Regions from separate parts of the Homo sapiens genome. Here regions 2, 3 and 4 are each linked to region 1. The links are contacts of gene promoters, found by promoter capture Hi-C in blood cells and fetal thymus (Javierre and others, 2016). All regions are on one chromosome and are shown on one strand. Each heading gives the region's core, a stretch centred on a gene start or on the middle of the fragment in contact. The rest is flanking DNA. Distances are from core to core; before and after follow the strand shown.

Region 1 (3,249 bases), core at 191-2,690:
TTTAAGCCCTAACAAACACTTGGGAAGATTTGAAGTTAAAAGCAAATTGTGGTGGGGGTACAGCACAGGTTTTGTGGTTTGGTTTTGTTTTGCTTTTTAAATAAACACAGTCCACAAAAACCCATCTGCCTTCACCTGGAAGGACCAGTTCTTTAATTAAAAAAACGCTTTGGCTTCGGTTTCACTGGGAAACTAAAGCCAGAGCCCCTAAACTTTTCTCTCCGCAGATCGGGTGAGCTGGGGAGGGTGCTCATCCACTTCATTGCAGGGGGAAGTACAGCCTGGAACCCCTTTCGGGATACTGTCATTTGCCCCTTCTTCCCATCTCTTACTCTATCCTCAGAACCAGTATGAGAGTTTTCTGGGGCTAAGGCAAGGGGCAGTGGGGTCAGGCGCTGGAAGGACTGGTTTGCAAAGAGATAAGCTTTGGAATGAAGCCGCACAGCTGAAAACTCGCGGCAAGACATGCTCGCGCTGTGGCGAGTCAGTTCGAGAAGCATTTATCCCTACTCCCCTTAGCTTTCTGAGCAGCATTTGCAGTCAGGTGCAAACAGATCGCATATTTGGCGCAAAGAGCCCTGAGGATGAGGGACGTGGGATCATTCCCCGGTTTCCCCCGGGCCAGGTGCTAGGTCGTTTGAGGAGGAACTGTTCTCCAGTTCTCAACGCCTGCAAAGGCGGCTATAGGTGGCAAGCGGAGCTGTCCAGCACTAGTGAGGAGCCAGCGGAGCCGGGAGCCCCGCGCACCCCGCCCGGCTGAGGCTCAGCAACAGTGCTGTCTTGTCAGAGCAGACGCTGTCCTCACTGCCGCCCCTTTCTGGGCTCGCTCCGCGCCCACACGGCCTCGCACGAGGCGGGGAACACAAGTCCCCAGGAGCTGCTCCAGCAGGATGGGCGCCAAAATGTTGCCCCTGTCCTTCCCTTCCCCTGAAAGCGTCTCCTCTGGAGTGGGCTGGCTGGACGCTTGGCCTTTCCCTTTTGCCTCGGAACTTCCTAAATAAACTCGGAGAAAGGACAACATGGACCCTAACCCCCACTTCACACTGTCAGGTTTCCCCAAGGTGGCTCCAGGGGGAGGCCTCTCGCCCCCCAGCCCCGAGCCCTTCTCCCCACCAGCGCCGCCGGGACCCATCTGCTCCCGAGGGCCGAGGATAAGGCGTTTGGGGTTGGGGCCCTCAGTCCGACCCGAGCTCCTGTGCGCACCTCCTCGGAGCAGGGAGGGCGCGCAGAGGACAGCAACGAAGTGTCCTCGTTGCTCCTGAAACGTGGCGACAGGCGAGGCAGAGACTCCCAATGAGTATGATGGCGACACGTGATTCCCGCGGAGGGAGAGCATGGGGGGGGGCGGGGGGATAAAGGGAGAAGGAGGGAGGCAGGGCAGCAAGTGGAGAGAGGCGGGAGCAGAGAGGGAAAGGGGGCGAGATAGGCGCGCAGGCGGCAGAAGCCTCTGCCTCTGCCTCCCCTTCTGCTTGGGCCGCAGCCCTCCCCGCCCCGCCGACCGCGGTCACACACTCTCGGAGCCTCCCCGTGAGCGGGAGCGCGGCGCACGGCGATGCGCCGAGGCGGGCGCTGAGGCGGCGCCGCGCGAGCAGCAGCAGAGGCGGCGGCGGCCCCCAGCCCAGCCCGGCGCCGCCGCCGAGCCCGGGCCCCAAGGTGCGGCGGCGCCCCAAGTTCCCGCCATGAGCAGCCGGCTCGGGGGGCTCCGCGGCCCCGGGGACTCCCGCCCCGCCGGGCGCGACCGCAGCGCCCCGCGGCCCCGACGCGCTTAACGTTGTCGCTTGCCGGTCCCGCCACCGCCGCCTCCGCCGCCGCTCGCGTCCTCGCCGCCACCGCCTCGGCCGCTGCAGCTCCGCCGGCAGCATGTCTCGAAGGAAGATTTCGTCCGAGTCCTTCAGCTCCCTGGGCTCCGACTACCTGGAGACCAGCCCGGAGGAGGAGGGGGAGTGCCCCCTGTCTAGGCTCTGCTGGAATGGCAGCCGGAGCCCGCCCGGGCCGCTGGAGCCCAGCCCGGCCGCAGCTGCCGCTGCCGCCGCCCCGGCCCCGACCCCGGCTGCTTCTGCCGCCGCCGCCGCTGCCACTGCCGGGGCCAGGAGGGTGCAGCGCCGGAGGCGGGTCAACCTGGACTCGCTGGGCGAGAGCATCAGCCGCCTGACGGCGCCCTCGGTGAGCGGGGGGCGGAAGGGGGGACCGCCTTCGGGGGAGAGAACGCGGATCTGTAAAGTTGGCGCTGGGCGAGCCGGGGCGCGAGCGCAGAGCCCGACCGCTGGGGGGCGGCCCGGCCTTACCCTGCACGGCCTAGGGTTCCAGTGGCTCCGGCGACAGAGGATCCCCTAGGCTAGGGCGGAAGAGGGGACTACAGCACTGGGAAGGAATAAGATTCCACTCCTTTGGGGTATCCTGATTCGGGGGCCTGTCTGCCCACCTCTAGCCTTGAACCCTACTTCACCACTGTTCCCCCTGGACAGCCCCAGTGCTGCTTCACACCCACCTGTTTTCTTTCCCCTAAACTTTCCCAGGCACTGTGTTCTGCAGTTCAGCTTCCCTGTCTTTCATCCTGTTCTCCAGCATCCCAAAGGAGCCCCAACCCCTTCCAGGAAACCCTTCCTCTCCTTATTTCCCACACTCTCTTGGTCTTAGCGTGACCTTCTCTGACATCTTTGAATTCCACAGGCTATCTGCATTCTATGTTGCATCCTTTTTCTCACATCTTCAGATACTTTTTGCCAGATACTTTTCTGAGTTGCCTTCTGTTCAAGTAATCTCTAATCTCGAGTTGTCCTCACCCCGTAGCTTTTTTTCTTTTTCTTTCTTATCCACTAGGCATTTATTCTTCTCTGGGTAAACCTGGTGTCTGGATTTCTTTTTTTTTAAATTAAATTTAATTTAAAGTCCCGGGTTACATGTGCAGGATGTGCAGATTTGTTACATAGGTACCAAACGTGTGCCATGGTGGTTTGCTGCACCTACTAACTCATCACCTAGGTATTAAGCTTCGCATGCATTAGCTATTTAAACCGCTCTGTACTTCTTGCACCTGTACCTCATCCTTTACTCTCTCCTCAATGGATTCTCTAGTGCTTTCTCTCTCACATTAGCTATTTAAACCTCTCTGTACTTCTTGCACCTGTACCTCATCCTTTACTCTCTCCTCAATGGATTCTCTAGTGCTTTCTCTCTCACATTAGCTATTTAAACCGCTCTGTACTTCTTGCACCTGCACCTCATCCTTTACTCTCTCTTCAATTGATT
Region 2 (3,249 bases), core at 448-2,947, 930 kb after region 1:
AGGAAAAAAATTTAAATAAGCATGCTATTAAAAAACTGATTAACATAAAAGGCAATCAATCTGGCACAATCACTAGAAAGCAATCACATAACTCATTATGTACAGCCAAAAAATATCCGATACGAGTGCGTTTTCATATACTTTAGAGCATCTTATTTAGTCCACAAAATAAAAAATTTGACAGCAATAGGAAAAGGTGATTTCGTAAATATTCGGCCAAAGCACAGCAGCGCCACACTGTGGCATTATGGTGGATATACAGTGGGCAAATATTGTGTTAAGTATTAAGTGCAGTTTACCTAGGAAACTGGAATAAAGAAAAATCGGTAGGAAGAACAGTGAATTTGTCCCTTAAACTATTTGAAGACAGCACAATTACTGCACATACGTTGGCAAGTTCTAATAATACCATTACATACACAGAGAATCATCAGTCAAATTTAGAAAAACCTGATCTTCCATCTTATAGCTTGATCATTAGGGAGAGCAGTGTTAGATATTGTATTCTGGAATGATTAACTAATCAAGACCACCCAGCAACTAATGTTTTATTTTAAACACAGTAGTAACATACAACAAAATCATTTAGATCCAATGCCTTGAGCAACTATTTCAGGCCTACGGAAAAAAATCCAGAACCTCAGGGCCTACGACATTAATCCCTCTCCAAAACAAGGTCACCAATATGTATACACAAATATATACATATAACTACCTCAGCCTTTAGGAAAATGGGCTGGTCATTTTTGAGGGAAGTGGAAGGGAGTTAAGCAATGCCCATCTACGTGCTTGCTTCAAAGTACCAAAATTTAGCCTTAGATAATAAATCATATTAGAAATTGTAATAGTTTCACTTTCTAAGTACTAAACTGTATATAATAGAATTATATATAATTTTGCTTCTATGAGAAGTGACAGTCTTCTAAGATATGAGTTAGTATGTACACCGTAATGCTTATCAGCTCATTTGTCCAGGAACTTATCCAGACAAAAACCTAGAATAACACAAAAATATCTGAGCTGCCAATATAGGTTTCACAAACTACATGCACAAAGCTTCTTGCATGTTACTATCAAAGGATGTATTTAAGCCCTCAATTTGTGGAGTACAGCAGAAAAAGCACTAGATTGAAATAACGTCAACCTAGGTTTGAAACTCACCATTTAGGCAGTCCTAAACTTCAGTTGCTCTTACATTGTTTACCAACACATATAGGTATTAACACACAGAGGCAAGAAACAGGCTGATAGAGCTAGAACTACTGGGCTGCGAATGTTATCCTTTCAGGAAGAACTCCAGAGAATGAAGAAGAGGACCAAGAGGACAGAGCATGAAGCCTTTTATTTTCAGGCTTTGAAACCTAATGAATTTACTCTGCTGGGTTTGGAACATGTTTGAGAACAATGACCCCTTTTTACTTCGAACTTCTTTTTGGAATGGGAATGTCTATCCTATGCCTCTCCTACCACTGATTTTTAGAAGACTTGTTTTCTGCTTTCACAAGTCCACAGATGAGAGGAATTTTGCCCCAAGAAGGATCATACTCCAGTTTCACACATAGCTGATTTAGATGATTGAGATGAGATCTGCCACTTTTTGGGTTGATGATATTAACACTTACATGAGATTTAGAGTTAATGCTGGAATGGGCTGAGAATTGCTAATGCTGGGATGGGGTGAATTTACTTTGTATGTTAGATGGATATAAATTTTGCAGGGGGCCAGAGAATGGACTCTACTGGGTTGAAGGGTGTCTCCTGAAATTCATGTCCACCCAGAACCTTAGAATGTGACCTTATTTGGAAATAGAGTCTTTATAGATGTAATCAAGTTAAGATCAGGTCATACCTAATTAAAGTGAGCCCTGAATCCAATGCCTGGTTTCCTTACAAGGAGAGACAGACACACAGAGAGGAGACAGAAAAGGTCATTTGAAGGTGAAGGCAAAAATTGGAGTGATGCAACTGCAAGCCAAGGACTGCTAGGAATGAGCAGAAACTAGGAAGAAGCAAGGAAGGATTCTTTCTTAGAACCTTCAGAGAGACCATGGCCCTGCTGACACCTTAACTTCCAGCCTTCCAGAACTTACAGAAGAGCTTTCGGTCACTTTAAGACACCATGTTTGAGGTACTTTGTTAAGCAGCCTGAAGAAACTAATATACACATGGATACAATTTAAATTATACATAAGCACACACATTCGCGTACCCTTCGGAGTTTTAATTCTATGTCCCTGCAGTCAAATGTTCAAATGCTGGTCCATCACTTCTTAGCTAGAGATTGAGGATCCCTAATCTGAAAACCTGAAATCCAAAATGCTATAAAACTCAAAGCTTTTTGAGCATCAAAATTATACTCAAAGGAAAAACTCAGTGGAGCACTGTGGATTTCCCACTAGGGATACTCAACCTGTGGGTTATTTATTTAACATTTACTTAACATCTCTATGGCTGTTTCTCAAACTGTAAAATTGGGACAAAGAATTGGGCAGATTAAGAATAAACATGTAAAATGCCTGGAACTATCAAGTACTTAATAAATATTAGCTCTGAGGTTGTTGTCAAAGTCATGGTTAAATGTGTATCTTCTTTTGTCAACTGTTTTTATAAAGTCCTTCCTATATTCATCAAGTAAGGCTTAAGTGGTTTTCCCATCGATATTTAGAGGGGCATTTCATATCTTAACAACATTAACCTTTGTCTGTCAAATTTGCCACCAATATATTCTCTGGTTTGTGAAAGATGATTTAATATGAAATCATATCTGTTGACTTAGTGGTTTATTATTTTAAGCTTCAAAAGCCATCTTTCAGAAGTTTGCTCAAATATACAATTACATTGTGTTCTAGTAAGTGTTAATAAAACTGGCCAGGCGCAGTGGCTCACGCCTGTAATCCCAGCACTTTGGGAGGCCGAGGCGGGTAGATCACGAGGTCAGGAGATCAAGACCACCCTGGCTAACACAGTGAAACCCCATCTCTACTAAAAATACAAAAAATTAGCCGGGCGTCGTGGCAAGTGCCTGTAGTCCCAGCTACTCTGGAGGCTGAGGCAGGAGAATGGTGTGAACCCAGGAGGCGGAGCTTGCAGTAAGCCAAGATCACGCCACTGCACTCCAGCCTGGGCAACAGAGCAAGACTGTCTCAAAAAAAAACAAACAAACCAAAAGTGTTAATAAAACTTTAATTTTGTTATAGTGTGAGGCAATGACTTTCTGATAATATCACTCATAAAAAATGGTAAATGGGC
Region 3 (3,249 bases), core at 523-3,022, 870 kb after region 1:
AATCCAGTCCCTTTACTTCATCATGGACAGAAACAGAATTTGTCATATCATGGTTTAATCTGGAATAATTAATTCTTCAGTCTTATTGTTTTTCTTAACACTCATGTTTGAAGAGTACAGACCAGTTATTTTTAAACTATTGGTCAATTTGGTTTGTCTAATCCATCTCCCTGTAACTAGATTCACCAACTCTCAGTACAAATATCAGAAGCATATGATGAATTGATCATTTTTGCAATATATATTTGGGTTCTCTTCACACCTTTGATGCAGGATTTTTTGCTCCTTGGTTCAGCTTAATCTGGGTTCTTGTCTCACGACCAGGAAAAAATAGGCACACAGACACATTGAAAGGTGAGGAGGGCAGAATTCATTTAGCAAAAGGAAAGCTCTCAACACAAACAGGGGTCCTGCATGCAGGTTTCCACCTCACAAATGAGTATCAGGGCACCACACACAAGTTGAAGAGGCCAGGCTCCTCCCCAGCATAAGGCAGAAATTCCTGGTGGCTCCACCCTATTCCCCGAGTGCCCATGCAGACCCTTAGTCTGAGCCACTCCATACTGATTTAATTTCCTTATTGCTCATGTGTTAATGGATGGAATTTTTCACTGTAGGCATGTTTATGCAAGCTCCCACGCACAGTGATGTGGGCAGGTTGGAGGTTCTCCAGGGACCTTTCCCTATTTGCCTAGGCATTTGGCTGTTTCCTGCCTCTATCACCTTGAAATTGTGACAGACTGAAACTGCTTAGCTCTCCCTAGTGGTTAAAATGTATGATCAGACTAATTACTGGAAAAAGCAGTTTGATTAACTGATTAAGTCTATTTGAGGAAAAATTAAAATCCAGGACCGAAATATTGACACAATGGCAAGAAAACAGATCAGCTAATGAAAAGCCTTGATCTTAATTATCTAGTACAATAAAAAGTAACGCCTGAGAAGGACAGTTGTACTATTTCTTCCTCAGGCTCAAATCTGATCTTTTTTCGTAATAAAATCTCACATTTTCCCAAAATGTTTAGCCTTTTCTTGGTATTTATTTATCTCTAGTTGTTCAACAGATGAAATATATATATTTAATATATACTATTATTATAAATATATTATTGCTTTAAATATAATAAATATATGTGAAATATATATATCATGAAATATGTGAAATATATCTGTTGATGAAATATATATATATTTTCTAGATGAATACTAATACATATTGAATAGAAGAAAGAGACATCTGTATACTTCCATAGAGCACATTATCCTAAAAATATCACTTGGTATTGTATGATAAATAGCATTTTATTAATATTTATACTAATAGAAAATGATTTTAGCTTTTTATATTTTTTCTTTATAAAATCAAAATATATGACTTCATATTTTTATTTGATCAAAATTTGACTTCTTTCCCGCTCTGTGATTCATAGCTCTTGACAGATAAGAGGTTCTCAATGGTTGGTGTATGTACTGCCCCATTTACAATGGCAGTTTTCATTAAAAATTATAAATGAGGATATAAAATGTCTTAAAAGCATCATTTGAATAATAGGATCAAATACATTGCTAAGATATCAGCTGTTACAGTTTTTATGCTAAAAAACAGAATATCATTTAACATAGTTGTTAGCACAGCATTCACCTTAACTAGACAGTATTCTCTTCACCACTGTCTCTTCTCCTCTCTGGTCAAGGGGATATCACAATGCCCCCATAGCAAAATAAAAAATGTTTGATTCTGACACCTGTGTTCCTCTCTTCTAACACTAATCTTGCATGTGGCTAAGATTTAATACAAAACTAGCCCAATAGTGTTCCTTTTGCCAATCCCAATATTAATTTTCAAAAGCACATTTTAATCTAAAGTGGCATGCTGGAGCCACTTCATGATACAGTGAGCACTGGCTGTGTATGGAAGCTAACTATCTCAACTATGCAAATGAAGCTGTAGCATCTGTAATTAGAAGGGATCTCACTGTAAATCATTTGACGTGAATAAGCATCTTCATTGCACTTCAGGAAAGGCTTTTTAATTAACAAGGTCTAATAATTTTAAAGGCTTAATGAACAATTACACTAAAACCAATGATAGCACCAAAATGATTCATAATAATTTACTGTTTTTTTTCCTCAGATGTGATTTCTAATTATAGTGTAGGCAGGATCATGATTGAGTTTCTACCCTTATCAATATACCATTTTCATTACAAAATGAATCCTCCCACTGCCTAATGATATGCATTCTAACTAATGGGAAGGAGAAAGACGAAAAAAACTTACATTTATTAAATATCAGTAATATAAAAGTTTTCTTATACATTAACTTACCACACACACACATGAAATATGAGGAAATGCATATATGTTCAAAAACTTCTCCAAAGGTTACAGAGATAACAAGTGAAAGAATTTGGGTTGAACACAGACTTAACAGACTTTAGGTCTAACACCCTTTCCACTATATTACATTGTCTCTTATTTTTATAATATTGTAGTTATGTATTGTTATTAATTCAACATCCAAAACTAGTACTTTAACTTCCATTTCTATTTCTGCATTTTGATAGAGAATTGACTCTCATTTTTAATTTAAGGTGATTTTATTTGTTTCCAATGAAAGACACTCTTTATTTAGTATGTCATATGAATTTTGGATGTTCAGCTAATTTATATATAAAAAACATTTGTTGATAGCTACCTATTTCTGTTAAAATTATTGCTGTCTTCATGACATCCATGACTTCTGCTCATCGTCTGCACAAAAAGGTCAATATGGCTTTCCTGTGTCCCCTAATAACACTCACCATTGTCTCGTGAATTCTGAAACTTCTGTATTCACTGAAGTTTTTCTCCATTCACTGCCAAGCTAGTTCATTAGCTTGTCCTATAAGCAAACAGGTTTCAGCATTTCAAAGATTTTCTAAACACAATGCAAATATGTAGATGTGGTACACTTTTCCTGGGAACTCAAGAGCAGAATGTAGTAGCAATTCTTAGCCCAGATAGCCAATGTCTTTGGGTTTTTTCACCATATCTTATCTGTTTTATTCACCATATTATTAGTTGAATGAATTGAATCCATGACTGAGGACCCTCATTTGTTCTTGACTTTTCAATTAAAAGATTTGTATTATAAAACCAAACTACCAGAAATCCCAAAATACGTAGTAATGACCTATTCGAATTGATAATGTAGAATTGGCCCCTCTCTTAATTTAAATCTTCCAAACTATGATGATCTGAACAATA
Region 4 (3,249 bases), core at 496-2,995, 710 kb after region 1:
AAGATCACACTCTGAGGTACTGGGTGTTAGGACTGCCACATATGAATTTTGGAGGGATACCATTCAGCCCGTAACACAGACTTACTAGAATGACCAAAAAAAAAAAATACTTTTATTGGATATATAAAGTGCTAGTGAGGATGTGGAAGACTAGGATGCTCATTCACTGCTGGTGGTGATATGTAATGGTTTGCCCACTTTAGAAAACATGCACTTACCATATAAGCAGAAATATCACTGTTAGGTATTTACCCAAGAGAATTAAAACATATATTCACACAGAGACTGTATACAATTTTTTATAGCAGTCATATTCATAATAGCCCAAAACTGCAAACAACCAGAATATCCATCAACTGATGAATGAATTGTTGTATATCTATATAAGAAATACTACCCATAAATAAAACAGTAATAAACTACCGATAAATTCAACAGGATGTTTAAACCTCAAAAGCATTATGCAACATGAAAGAAGCCAGATACAAAAGTGCTACAATGTATAAGACTCTCCGGAAAAGGAAAAGTTCTGGCTCTCATCAGCACTGATTGGCATAATCTTAGTTGCTCTTTATTATATGGAGGAAGACTCTTTTCATTATTTTTGTTAGATTTGTGAAAACCAAAGGGAAAAAATTATAGGGAGAGAAATTGAGTAATTGCCAGGAGCTGGGGTTAGGGGCAGGAAATTGATTGAAAAGAGGAACAGGGAGACTTCTTGAGGTTAGGGAAATATTCTTTATCTTGATTGTGGTAGTGGTTAGAGAACTACATACATTTGTCAAAACTCATTAAACTGTATTCTTTAAAAGAATGAATTTGACTGTGCAAATTTTGTCAAAATAAGCTTGATTTTTAAAAAGTATTAAAAACAGTGGTCTTAAATGAAGACCATGGAATTGCTGCAATAGATAATATTAAATCAACATTTTCAAAAATAGAAGGTATACTCAATCACTATGTCCTAACCAAAAAATATTACTGATGACATTTTAATTCATCCTTTTTCAATTTCTCTTGTGTGTATGCCTATATAATATATATTATCATGTAATAGAATATATTAACACATCAGTACATGTGTATAATTTACACATAAATAACTGGACATGTAAAAGATATGCATGCAAAAATTTTGTTTAAACTTAAGGCAGGCACACTCAGACATTTTGGATATCCCTCATATAGTTACTTCTAATTTTATTTTAATAAATAATTCTCAAATTAGTATCTCTGTGCTTGGAGCTTTTATCATCATTTTGGATTTTTTTTTTAAGAAAGAATGACAAAATTTGAATTAATGTGTCAAAGTTTATCTGTCTCATGAAATATATAGATTCAATTATTTTTCAAAGTTCTTGAACCAGTTTACATTGACACAAACAATTAATGAAAGTGCCTGTTTCATCGTATACTCTTGTCAGCACTGATTGACATAATCTTAGTTGTTCTTTATTATATTGTGGAAAACTATTATTTTTGTTATATTTTAAAAAATAGTAAATTACTTTTAGCAAATGTCTTTTAGCAAACTATTAAAGTCTTATAAATCTGGCTTTCCCTATTGATATAGTATATTATGTGCATTGATGTTCTTACATTAAACCATCTTTACAATACTGAATAGAATGTACAATTTCAAATGCCTGCTGGCAAAGCTGGCCCAGTAATTTTTAGTTGGTAATGACTAATCATAGCCTTCGCAGGAAACTCCTAACTACCTCTCCTTCCAGAACCCAGACTTTTAATAAATTTGTTGCCTCATCCTTAGAGCTATTTACCTTCCCTCATTCTCTCAGATACCTGCCTATATTTCTTCACAAAGTTATTATTTTTATAGTAAGTCAGTTTCTTTACCATCTTGAAAACAGTTGCATGGTCTCCATGTTTTGGATACTCTGAGCAGGATTTCACTGAGACTCTGTCCAATGCAATCTTCCGGAACAGAACAACTTTCCCTTCCAAGATTTCAGGCCTCTTACTTAAACCTCGAGCTTTTATTGAGCCCTGTAAGTGTGGTGATCAACCACCCATTGAGTAGTGCAGCCAAAATTACAGTTTTTATCAAGGAGTGCAGAGATGCTATCTAAATATGTTTTATCATCCTTTCTACCCATCTGAGGGGAGCTTTAATGTACACAACAGAGCCAAATGGAAATATACTACAGCATGACTTAACAACTCTTCGCCATTTTAAAGACTGAAAACAAACAGCAGCACCACAGAAATAAATAAAATAAATAAATAAATAAATAAGCTAACCAATAAGGAAAATCATTTTCGGTACTTAACACTGAATAAATCTTGTTAAGATCCTCAGACTGACATTTATTGAAACAGTTCTTTGAAGCCAACAACACAAAGCAGCCAATAGTGGTTAAACAATGCTTTTTATTTCCCCAGGGTTGGAAATCTGGAATTCTCAATTCCGATTATATATCAAAACAATGTATACAGCTTTTACAGGTATACTCGGGCCCAACACTCAGGTGATTTCTTTAGTAAGTCTGGAATGAGGATTATGCATCTGCATTTTTAATAAGCTGCAGGTATGATTCTGATGCTTAGTCAAGATGTTAAATTATTGGTTTAAATTCTGGGGATCAGATGGGCTTGGAAAAACAATTCTTTCCAGAAAGCTTAATACAAAAAAATTTCTAAATTCTACAAGTACCAGAGCTTTTAGGCAGCTAATCAATTTATGCCTTGATAAGACAAATAGACCCTTTTGCCAAGGGTTAACAATCTTGATACAATTCCCAGAGTTATTCTGTACAGGATCAACATATGTATTAGGTAACCTGAGGATCAGAGATTGTCTGTGGACATTATCTGTCCTGCCTGCCCTCTGCTGGCATGAAGCTGGACAATTGACAGAATGTGCACTTAGCTTGACAAGGCAGTCATTTTCATGGAAGAAATGTTTTGGTTCATGCCAGGCATAGTAGTATTTGGAAGGCCTAGAAATAACATATAAAATGACTTGGAGATTCTGGAGAGTGAAATAATCTCAAGTTTTTTTAAACCCATCTGTTCAGCTGTGCACTTCTTCAAGTCAGAGATGCTTGACCTCTGAAAAGCAACCATATCTAAAACAGCCAAGTTGGACCCAGAGAGGAAGCAGCAGACCCTGTTGGCCAACTAATACTGGAAAATCAAGACGAGAGGGAGGCATTGGCAAGGCAAGAACTTGAGGAGGAAAGTTATCTGTCTATTGATAGAAGAGAGGGGGAATCTTTTTCTAAGGGC

The links. The method cuts DNA at HindIII sites, captures the fragments that hold promoters and counts their contacts. A CHiCAGO score of 5 or more calls a contact.
Region 2: a contact is called between a fragment that was not itself captured here and the fragment with the promoter of GUCY1A2 in region 1, in 2 of 17 cell types (megakaryocytes and endothelial precursors). The highest score is 8.7, in megakaryocytes.
Region 3: a contact is called between a fragment that was not itself captured here and the fragment with the promoter of GUCY1A2 in region 1, in 1 of 17 cell types (endothelial precursors). The highest score is 10.5, in endothelial precursors.
Region 4: a fragment that was not itself captured here is called in contact with the fragment with the promoter of GUCY1A2 in region 1 in 1 of 17 cell types (megakaryocytes); the score reaches 8.5 in megakaryocytes.

Annotation. Positions count from the first base shown.
Region 1 is chr11:107,016,667-107,019,915 of GRCh38, reverse strand. GUCY1A2 (guanylate cyclase 1 soluble subunit alpha 2) reads left to right here and starts at 1,440. Exons shown (of 8, transcript NM_000855.3): 1 at 1,440-2,163. The coding sequence starts at 1,861. RefSeq lists a silencer at 1,917-2,046. The HindIII fragment of the contact is 2,566 bases long and covers 427-2,992 here.
Region 2 is chr11:106,085,018-106,088,266 of GRCh38, reverse strand. All of the region lies in intron 2 of AASDHPPT (aminoadipate-semialdehyde dehydrogenase-phosphopantetheinyl transferase), which reads right to left. Among named protein-coding and RNA genes, the nearest start is that of AASDHPPT, 9.0 kb to the right of the region's middle. The HindIII fragment of the contact is 1,278 bases long and covers 1,059-2,336 here.
Region 3 is chr11:106,149,613-106,152,861 of GRCh38, reverse strand. No RefSeq gene overlaps it. Among named protein-coding and RNA genes, the nearest start is that of LINC02719, 19 kb to the right of the region's middle. The HindIII fragment of the contact is 5,904 bases long and covers 1-3,249 here.
Region 4 is chr11:106,306,752-106,310,000 of GRCh38, reverse strand. No RefSeq gene overlaps it. Among named protein-coding and RNA genes, the nearest start is that of LINC02719, 180 kb to the right of the region's middle. The HindIII fragment of the contact is 1,792 bases long and covers 850-2,641 here.